Linked DNA regions of Homo sapiens: region 1 is linked to region 2. The links are contacts of gene promoters, found by promoter capture Hi-C in blood cells and fetal thymus (Javierre and others, 2016). All regions are on one chromosome and are shown on one strand. Each heading gives the region's core, a stretch centred on a gene start or on the middle of the fragment in contact. The rest is flanking DNA. Distances are from core to core; before and after follow the strand shown.

Region 1 (5,492 bases), core at 2,594-5,093, 670 kb after region 2:
TACTTGATGGTGCCAGGGTGAAAAGGACTCACATTGATTAAGCATCTGTTCCTGCCTTGGCAGTATTTGGGCACTTGATGTTCATTTATCTCATTGAATCCTCTCAGCAACTTGAGCAATATGAATTATTATCCCTTTTTTATAACCAGGAACCCAGGTGTCAGAGAAATAAAGTAACTTCTGCAAAGTTACACTGCTGGGACATGTACGCAGCAACTGACTTCACACCTGCCTTCTTTCGTCCATGCATCACACGCTTTGCCCACTCTAAAGTCGTGTTCGTTGAATTGTATTCTTGGCATTGAAGTTCTGCTCTTCAGAACCCTATACCTTAGCTGAGTCAGAAGGGTGGGGTGTGGGGTTCACTGTTGTTGACACTTTAAGTTGTCTTTATGCTGCGGTGAAGCACAGCCAGGAAGATGAGGGTACCTGCTGTCACTCGTGGAGCCTTTGTAGATAGAAAAGGTTGCAGTCAGCCCCAAAAAGGCTTTTGTCTTCAGTGAGGGATGTGCCGTCAGTGGCTTCGGGGTTACTGGAATCTGGACTCTTCCTGACTGTTTGAACCTGAGATCAGGACTTTTCTGTTCAGGCTGTTTCCAAAATCAGCTTCTGGGACAGTTTTTAAAGTTGTAATTGGGGATGCCGCATACTTCAGAATCACCTGGGAGCTTGATAAAAGCACAGACCTGGAGGGTTCTATTGAATTGGACACTCTGCTGCCCAGAATTCTGCATTTTTGTCAAGCTCTGGGGTGATTCTTGTGCACACTAGGGTTTGAGGTCTATTGTTCTGGAGAAGAAATTATTAACCCTGGCTATGAACGAGAACTGTTGGGGAGTTTTAAAAATGAATATAAATGTCTGGGTCCTACCCCTTAGAGACTGTGATTTAATTGGTAATATTCAGGTATTACTACTTAATTAAAACAAACAAACTCCTTAGGTGTTTTTAATGCACATCCAGCATTGAGAAACATGGTTTTGAAGTAGCGGCTCTCAAAATGTGATCCTCAGACCGAAAGTGTCAGTATCTGGGAATTCATTAGAAACGCAAAATCTTGGGTCCCACCCCAGATCTGCACCACAAGAACCTCCAGGGATGGGGCCCAGCAAATCTGTGTATTTGCCCTCTGGCTGATTCTGATGCATGCTAAAGTTTGAGAGCCCCTGTTTTAGGGCAGTGCTTCTCAATCCTGGCTGCATATTCGAATCACTCAGGAGAGTGTTTAAGAATCCCAATGCCCAGGCCCCATCCCAGACCAATTATATCAGAATCACTTGGGGTGGAACTCAGGCATCGGTACTTTTTAAAGCTCCCCCAGTGATTCCAGTGTTCAGCAAGGGCTGAGATCCACTGTCCTAGGTAATGAGGACAATGTTGCCAAAAAGGAGCTATAAGCATTTGGGACCATGGGTAAGACATAATCATGTAGATGCACCACAGTTCTGGTGGAACTTAAGGTTGAGTGGGGGTGAGATGAATGCATGGCACGACTCTAAACTAGTATCTTACAGAATGTGATGAGGGAGGACAAAAGAAGAAGCAAGTTCCCTTCTATCATGTTCCTCCTTGCCTTCTGCCGCAGAACCAGGAAGGAAATGAACACTGAAATTGCACTCCCACAAAAACCAGCCTGTGCAAAAGTCCCTTCAGACAGCATATAACATTTTATAAAAAGGAGAGAGCTGCAGTCTGGGAAGGTCCCATGGCCCATGGGAGGAGCATCCACGGTCCCATGGAAGTAGCATCACCAAGATTCAGGCCTGGTTGTTTGAATTGCATAGCACACAGCCTCCTTAAAGTTTTCCCTTTGCCAGTTCCCCAAATTCTGGCTGCTTCAAGTGTCATTTGATGTCTCACCTGTTACGTTTTGTTGTATCTGCCTTTTTGTTTGGAACAGATTAAAAATAATGAACCTTTGATCAACGTGCTTTACAAAGTGCTGAAGAAGTCAGCACGGGGCTGTCGGCCCAGGAGAAGCGTAAGATGATCTGATCCGTGTCTCCAAGCGGGGTCATTCCATTGCTTCTGGCTCGGTGCCGACTTCATCACTTGCTTAACCAGTTGCTCTCCTGACCGCCCCAGGCTTCCCGCAAGTCATTTTGGTTTATTTTCTTTCAACTGAAGCTCTCTTCAGCATTTTGGCTGATGCACCAGGCTGAGCCTCTCATCTGCAGTTTTCTGTGACTCCATGTTTTGTGCTGCCAAGGGTGGGGGAGCTTGCCTGGCTTGCCACCAGCTTGTGTTGTGTTTCCATCATCACGTGTCTGCCTCCATGGCGAGGGCTCACCCAGACAGAGTTGAGCATGAGTTTCTTGGGAGGGAACAGCAGTTATTGGTCATCTTCCAAGAGCCAGGGTATCCTCAGATGCCACGGTGGCCCTGAGATTAAGGTGGCACTTTTTGGGGGCAGGCAGTTGGTATTTGGATAACAGCCTGGAGCTGGACTAGAATAAAATGCCACCCCCTGCCCATACCCTCTTTGATTGATGCAGAAGTAGGGACTGCAATGTGGCCAGCTCTCACAGCATTCCAGGGGAGGATGCAGATCGAGAAGCAGGTGTTGTGTCCAACCATCGTGAGCCCTGAGAAAGTGGGTTGGGATGTGGTGGAGGGGAGGGAAGATGCCTGGGTGGCCTTTGATTCCCCTCTGATGGAGAGACTCTTTCAAATGGATGAGCACCCACAGACTTTTACTTTTTCTGATGACAGAGATGCTGGGGGGACCCAGAGTTGATGTTTTAAGTGTATTTGAACATGGCTATAACAAACACACTTTTAAAAGGAAAATTAGATGTAATACGCTACACGTGGATATAATATTTCTTAGCAGCCTCGGCTGTCTGGAGCAGAGCTACATTCAGAAGCTTAACGGTCCTCTGAGCTGTAGAAACAGCTCTCATCAAGCCCATGCTCTAAAGCCTGTGACCTTTCGTCCATAGGAGACAGAGTCAGCTCACATTACTTTGATACATTCATGAACTCACTGAGCAAACATTGCCCGAATTTCTTCAATATGCTAGGCCCTGGCTGGGCTTTGAGGATACAGAGGAAAGGCATCCATCTCCACAGTCACCCCTAATTAGGTTACTCTCTAGTGAGGAGAGACAAATGAGCAAACGGAACATTGTACTCTAATGTGCTGGGTGCTGTAGTAGCAGCAGATGCAACGTGTGGAAAGAGCACCCTGAAGGGCATCACCCCCAGTTAAAGGGAGAGAAGAGATGTAAGTACCTCGTGTCAGTCGAGCTTATAGTCCTTTGAATTCCTAACCTACAACACCTAGTAAGCAGCAGTTTTTTTTGTTTTTGTTTTTGTTTTTTTTTTTTTTTTTTGACATGGAGTCTCGCTCTGTCACCCAGGCTGGAGTGCAGTGGCGCAATCTCAACTCACTGCAACCTCTGCCTCCCAGGTTCAAGAGATTCTCCTGCCTCAACCTCCCGAGTAGCTGGGACTACAGGTGCGCGGCACTGTGCCTGGCTAATTTTTGTATTTTTAGTAGAGATGGGGTTTCACCATGTTGGCCAGACTGATCTTGAACTCCTGACCTCATAATTCACCCGCCTTGGCCTCCCAAAGTGCTGGGATTACAGGTGTGAGCCACCGTGCCTGGCAAGATAAGCAGCACTTTAAAAAGGGACAAGAGAAATCTACTTCTTAGAAAAAGAGGTAGTACTAATATCCTGAGAGAGAGAAAAAAAAGGTTGAATGTATATTCAGTATTCCATGAAGGCAGCAAAGGGCATACTTTTAGAAAGCTTTCCATCAAAAAGTATAATTTAGAGGATTCAGCTTCTTCTCAAAATGTCCTTTTTATATAAAATATCTCATTCTTTTCCTGATGGTGCTGGATAAATGAGGCATTGCTCAATTAGATTTTCTGGCTTGTTATTTAAGTATCAAAAAGACATCCTCTGTAAAAAGCTTCAGTGAAATAAGGGGAAGAGTTTTGCTGGGGGAAAGAATCCCCAGAGTGTATCTCCATTTGAAAATGATTTCTACCTAGAAAATGAGCCCCAAAGGTCAGCCGGTTTGGAGAATAGACAACCTCCTTGTTCTTGGCTTTGATGAAAGGACGATGGCATAGAGCGAAGACTTCACTGCTTTCACCTGCTTTTTCTCCTGGGTTCCCCTGAGTTTAAAACCCACATTCTGCCTGAGAAGTTCAGCTGTTTGTGATTCACCAGGATTAACTTCATGCCCACCTCCCCACACCTCCCTGCACCGCCCCCCCCGCATTGCAGGAGACAGCACAGTCTGTTTGTTTGTGGATTGTTGCAGTCTTGTGTTCTGCAACTGTGTGTATACGTGTATGTACACATAATCTGACAGTCTGAAGAGCAGAATTTGGCTGGAGTTCTATTTTTTCCGGGAACTCAACAACACTGACCTACATGTGTTTCCCTTTGACCTACATGCAATGCAATTCAATAAGCATTTGCTGAGTTTGTGCCAGGTCTTCTGTTCAGGGCTGACTTTACCAAGATAAAACAATGGTTCCGTCCTCTTCTGTGTGACCAAAGGGATCGTGGGAATGGGTGGGGCATGTGTGTAGCCCAGAATCAGTCCTCACTCCAAGGCAGGGAGAGGTCCTCTCCCTTGACCTTTGGATTTGCTCATGACAGTTTGCAGGGAGAGGTAGCATAGGACAGTTGGGCACATGAAGGGCTTGAGCACTGAGTGGAATGTTTGCCAATTTATTTCCACCCCCAATCCACACTGACAAACTTCCTGGACCTTACAGATAGAATGGGGAGAAATCTACACCTCTCTCTCCAGCAGCTATCGGTCCACATTGGGACCTCTCTGCATAGCACACACACACCACCTGTCTCTGCCACTGTTAGCTCCACCCTCCATTTTCCTGGTCAGATCTGCAAAATAGAGCTCAGTGAGGTGGTTTCCCCTACATTAGGCAAAATAGACTTGGTTCTCCCTGGCCTTATCTTGGCCATGGGAGGGTGCATCTGTGAAAGTCACTCCCCTCAGCCCCTGCATGACTTTTGGCAAGAAAGAAATTGGGGGAAATGGAAAAATGGGATAAGTAAGATTTAGATTCTCAGGAGTCAGTGAGAGACAGGCAGCATATTGCCTACTTTGAGTCAAGTGAGGGATGGGAAATGTAAAATCCCATTGGCCCGCAAGTTTGGGTGACTTTTGTATATTGCTTTATGGTTTCCTTTCTTGTAACTTACACAAGTACAGCCTAGCCTCAGTTATTCAGGGAACAATTAAAAACCCTTGCTGGGAACTAGCCAGGTTCCTTTTTACCTTGGCCAGGTCTTCTTCCCAAATGGTAAAGGGTAAGGAAGGCTGGCCTTACCCACGGGGAAGTGGGCTGCTCAGAGACTTCATTAAACTAAGGCTTGACAATGGTCAAGGGATTTGTTTGTTCCTCTGGGTCTGCCCATCTCACCACCCTGGGCAGGGGGTGATGGGCTTCGTAACTTGTGTTTGTTCCCACGTTCAGTAGTACACCTCTGTCTTATCGG
Region 2 (5,162 bases), core at 1,883-4,382:
GGCACTAAGGCCAGAACAACATCAGAGCTGGAAGGGACTTTTTGTTTGTTTGTTTTGTTTTGTTTTGTTTTGAGACAGGGTCTCTCTCTGTCGCCCAGGCTGGAGTGCAGTGGCCCGATCATGGCTCACGGCAGCCTTAACCTCCCTGGCTCAAGGGATCTGGAAAGGACTTTTCTGAAGCTCTGCACCAGCCCCTTTACTGCACCCTGCCTGAGGCCACACCCACCCAGTAGCCGGTGAGTGTGAGAATCCAATCCCGGAAATCCAGCCCTAGTTTTCATTTTGCCAGGAGAATGGCTGGGAATTCTCAGAGCGGGGTACCCTTGCTCAAAGCAAGCTCTCAGAGTCTGACCTTCTTCCAGCCCCTAGCAAGAGAAACAAAAGGCATGGCTAGAGGTGGGGAAGCACCAGAGACCCAGCATCTCCCCGACAGAGGCAGACGTAGCCCTGTTACAGACATGAATGATTTTGTATGCCACACACCGCTCTGCGTCTGTGTCTTGGACATCTTCCCCTGCCAGTAAGCATAACTCTATTCTCTGCGCTTGCTCCACAGTATCCCACAGTACAGACAATATCTGTTTTTTGTCTGTTTGGGTTTTGTCTGTTTGAACCAGCCCCATACTGATGAGCATTTGGGTTGATTCCAGGAATACAACCCATATACTACAAAGGAAGTCCTTTCATGCCTCCGTGCGCACCTGACTCCACACTTTTTCAAAGTAATTCTCCCACCCACATGGTGGGCAGTGTGGTGCATGTCCTCAGTGTAGACCTAGGTGCAGGGAAAGGTGGAATTTGTCCACAGTCACACAGTAAGTTTGTGCTAGAGATGGCAAACACGAGTCCCCAAGACTCCAGACTTAACACTCTCTTAGTCCCAGTTGATGCTCCCTTAACACCAGACTTTTTGTTTGTTTCAAATGACCCAGAATAGGCAAGTGTGAGGGTTGCACCAGGCAATGTGGGGTGAGGGAGAGACCATTAAATAACCCTGATTGATCAAGGGGCTGCCGTGTGTAGTCACCCATGGGATGAAGTAGCTTGGACTATCTCCCCAACTTGCAAAGCACATTCATACCCATGATCTCATCTTAATCTTCTGGGTTCCATATTATTATCTTTTCCATTTAGAAATAAGGAAACTGAAGTGCAGAATGGTAACCTGCCCCCAAATCACACAACTAGTAGTAGTAGAGCCAGGACTAGGAGCCCTGTTCTTTAAAAGTAAATATATTATTACTGCTAAAAAGAAAGATAGCATTGCTGAAAGTGTGAAAAAACTGAAATTGTAACTACAAAAGAAAATAACAACATTGCAGAAAATATGAAAAAAAAAAACCTTGAAAGCAAGAAAAACAAACTAAAAGAAAAAATCTTACTGGGTGACCATGGACCTGTCATCTCATCTCTCTGAACCTCAGTTGTCTCATTTTTAAAGAAAGGGAATGAGGATAAGCACAGCGACGGCAGCCAGTACATACTGAGCACCGCCTTACCAAATTTCCAAGTCTGACCTTTCCCTGCAGGCTTCATGCAAGTATACATATTTCGTACGGCTATAATCATGGGAAGCACAATTTTGTTTGCCGTTTTTCACCTGACACTATCTTGTAAAGTTTTTCTATTGACTACACAGACTCAGCTAGCACCGTCCCAGCAGTTGCATTTTTCAAGGTTGATTAACCCCTGTCCCTGGTGCTGGATATTTCTTGCCACCAAGTTTTCACTATTTTGGCTGATGCTGCAAGAAACATCTTTTGGCTTCTGAGAAATTCTCCAAAGTCAGAGACTGAGGCATTCAGACCCTGAACTCCTGCTTTCCCAAGGCTTTTCACCCAACCCCATCTGCCCTCTGCCTCAGGGCCTGGGCAGAGCCTCGGCCTTGCTGACAGCGTGCTGGAGAGGCTCACCAGGCTCAGCAGCCTCAGGGCAGGCTCAGTGAAGCTTGTAGGCAAAGGGGCTGAAGGGGTCTTTCTTTTGTGTTCCCCTGACTGTTCCTAAGAACATGTGCATTTATGCTTCATACCCTAACTAGGAAAGTTCTCCTTAAATCTAACCCCCAAATCCCATCTTCTGTTCTTTCTACATACAATATAAACTTCTTTGGGCCACAGTCTTGTGAGAATCTCTCCAAAACGTATAGGAAGACATAATGTTGTCTTTACAATTGCACGGTGTCCTCCAACTGTTAAGCCTGTCCCAGGTGAGGTTAAGAATTTCAGTCCCTCTCCACTGCCTCACATCCATCTGGCCAGATGCGTTTCTTAAACTCCTCTTTATCAGCCTGGGGCTGTCACCCATTCTACCCATTGGTCTGCCAGTCGCTGTAAGGTTGTCATGTACCAGAGGCATGAGTACAAATGATGGGGGTGGGGACGGGGGACCTGAGGAGCTGGGTTCAAGCTATGCTTCCCTGCTTGCTGGCACTGAGACCTTGGGGGAAGTCATGTTACTGGCCTCCCTTCAGCTCCCTCGCAGCTTGGGTTTCCCCATCAGAAAATTGGAAGCGATTAGAACCTGTACTTAGCAAGAGTTCTGGGACATCCCTTGTGTGAAAGTGCCAGATACGCTGTAAAGCAGTACCTAGGAGTGCCCCACCTGGGACCACTTTTGAAAATGTCCAAGCCCCACCCCACCACCACCACCACCACAAGGTAACGTTCTGCCCCACTTTTCTCATCCATGTTGGGTGGAGACTTGCGCCATCCCTCGGCTCTCTACATCCATCCGCACCACGCCCAGGTGAACTCACACTCGGGACCCTGAACCCGCCCACTCCAGGCCTTGCGGGCCCTTCTCTCCTCTTCTGCACGCCCCACCCTCCTTTCCCACCCAGACTCCAGTGTGCCCACACCCCACTCCCCATCTTAGCCTGCCTTTCCCCTCTCCCCCAGCGCACGCGTGCATCAGGGCACTCACGAAGCCACCCCGGCAACATCTGGGAGCACGCGCCTCCACATCTGGAAGGTGGGCGCAAGCGTAGCAGGGCCGGTCGGGTTCCTCGCCGCCCCCCGGCCCCGCAGGTGGTGGAGCAGGGCGGGGTGAGGGAGGGGGAGGCCAGCGGGGCTGGGCGGGGCCCGGGGGGCGGGGGCCTGACGGCCGGGCCGGGCGGCGGAGCTGCAAGGGACAGAGGCGCGGCAGGCGCGCGGAGCCAGCGGAGCCAGCTGAGCCCGAGCCCAGCCCGCGCCCGCGCCGCCATGCCCCTGGCCTTCTGCGGCAGCGAGAACCACTCGGCCGCCTACCGGGTGGACCAGGGGGTCCTCAACAACGGCTGCTTTGTGGACGCGCTCAACGTGGTGCCGCACGTCTTCCTACTCTTCATCACCTTCCCCATCCTCTTCATTGGTGAGTGCGCGCAGCGAGCCGCGGAGGAGGGGACGGGAGAGCAGGGAGGGAGGAGGAGGCGCTGCGCGCCGCACCGCTCGGCGTCCCCTTCCGGCCCGCGACCGCCGTCCGCCTCGTTCCCGGGGTCCCCTGCCCTGTGTCCTGCCCGCCGGTCCCCGCACTCGCACACCAGCTCATCCCTTCACTCCCCCGGTGCCCCCGATCCCGCGCCAAACACAGCGGACGTTTGTGACCCATGGGATCACCAAGTTTTGCTTCTGCAGGGCCAAGAGCTGGGATGGGGAAAAGGGAAAGAGGAGGTCTCAGCACGCAGTGGGAAACTGGAGAGGGGTCGGGCCTCACCCTCCGTGGCGCAGCTTAGGGAGCCGGGTCACCCCTCCCGCAAGGCAGCCTCCCTGTCAGCCGCAGCTGGGCCTAGGGAAGAGGGAAGCCTGTGCTTTGGAGTCTGGGATGGAGGCCCAGCTAACCCCTATGCTTTCACCGGGCTGAGCCGCGCAGTGGTCCGTGATCTCTGACAGTCCCAGGCCCGCGCCCTGGGCGAGGAGAGGCGAGAGCTAGGGACTTGGATTCCCTTCCCCCGCCACCCCACCCGGGCATGTGTCTCCAGAGCGCAACTTCTCAGGCTCTGCGCAAAGTAGCTCCGACTCGCCGACGCAGCGACCCCGGCGCCCTTGCTTGCAAAGTTGGGCGCCACGGCCGGGACAATCGTGCGTGCCTCTCCACTGAGGTCCCCCCCATCTCTCTCCAAGACCTTGACTCTTCCAGACCAGTCAAGTCTATCAACTCATAGGGTGTCCCCTGCATCCCCAAAACGTGTTCATTCACTTTAAGAAAACAAGCAAATCTTAAAATTCATATACAGCTTTGGGGAAGAAAGGAAAGATTGTCACAAAATTAGATTTACAAGAGGTTGCTGCAGAAGCAGAGTTGCTAGTTATTAACAAAGACAGTTAGATAGAAATAGAAATAAAACATACAAAATATGTGCTCATATGTGCATCAAAAATCAAAAAAGAACAGCATTTACACTTCTGTTCTCAGCCAAACGGTTTATTAACCTGATGACTTGTCACACAAGAAGTTAGTATGTATAATGGGGTACCTTGGCAGGGCACAGTGGCTTACATCTGTAATCTCAGCATTTTGGTGGGCTGTGACAGGAAGACTGCTTGAGTCCAGGAGTTCGAGACCAGCCTGGGCAACATAGTGAGACCCCCCCCGCCCTTTCTACAAAAAATTAAAAATTAGCTGAGCATGGTGATGTGCGCCTGTAGTCCCAGCTACTCAGGAGGCTGAGGCGGGAGGATCACTTGAGCCTAGGAGATCAAGGCTGTAGTGAGCCGTGATCGTGGCACTGCACTCCAGCAGAGGCAACAGAGCAAGACCCTGTCTCAGTAAAAAGGTGTGGTGGGGGAGGTACCAGCATAGGACCAGGCTGAATGAGTTGGACGTTTAGTTTGTGTGTACCAGCCTTGGGGATCCTCATGTGTAGGTGTCACCCTCACCATGGACCCAATGCCCAAGCACCTTTCTGGGGTTCATGCACCCTCTTCCTCCTCCAAGTGGGCAGGCATCCTGCCTCTGACTGTCTCTCCCTGCAGGATGGGGAAGTCAGAGCTCCAAGGTGCACATCCACCACAGCACATGGCTTCATTTCCCTGGGCACAACCTGCGGTGGATCCTGACCTTCATGCTGCTCTTCGTCCTGGTGTGTGAGATTGCAGAGGGCATCCTGTCTGATGGGTGAGTGACTGTCTGAGGACTCAGGAAAGTGAATCTGCTCCAGGGTACTTCCTGAAAGGCCCAAGGAGATC

The links. Contacts are between HindIII fragments. The CHiCAGO score rates a contact against its expected background, and 5 or more counts as called.
Region 1: a fragment that was not itself captured here is called in contact with the fragment with the promoter of ABCC8 in region 2 in 2 of 17 cell types (naive CD8 T cells and naive B cells); the score reaches 6.1 in naive CD8 T cells.

What each region holds. Positions count from the first base shown.
Region 1 is chr11:16,803,633-16,809,124 of GRCh38, reverse strand. The region is part of intron 13 of PLEKHA7 (pleckstrin homology domain containing A7); the gene reads left to right. Among named protein-coding and RNA genes, the nearest start is that of C11orf58, 68 kb to the right of the region's middle. The HindIII fragment of the contact is 166 bases long and covers 3,761-3,926 here.
Region 2 is chr11:17,474,815-17,479,976 of GRCh38, reverse strand. It overlaps ABCC8 (ATP binding cassette subfamily C member 8), which reads left to right and starts at 3,132. Exons shown (of 39, transcript NM_000352.6): 1 at 3,132-3,348; 2 at 4,950-5,091. The coding sequence starts at 3,201. It overlaps LOC124902641 (a long non-coding RNA gene), which reads right to left and starts at 3,326. Exons shown (of 2, transcript XR_007062609.1): 1 at 3,246-3,326. RefSeq lists an enhancer at 3,920-4,476. The HindIII fragment of the contact is 8,626 bases long and covers 1,950-5,162 here.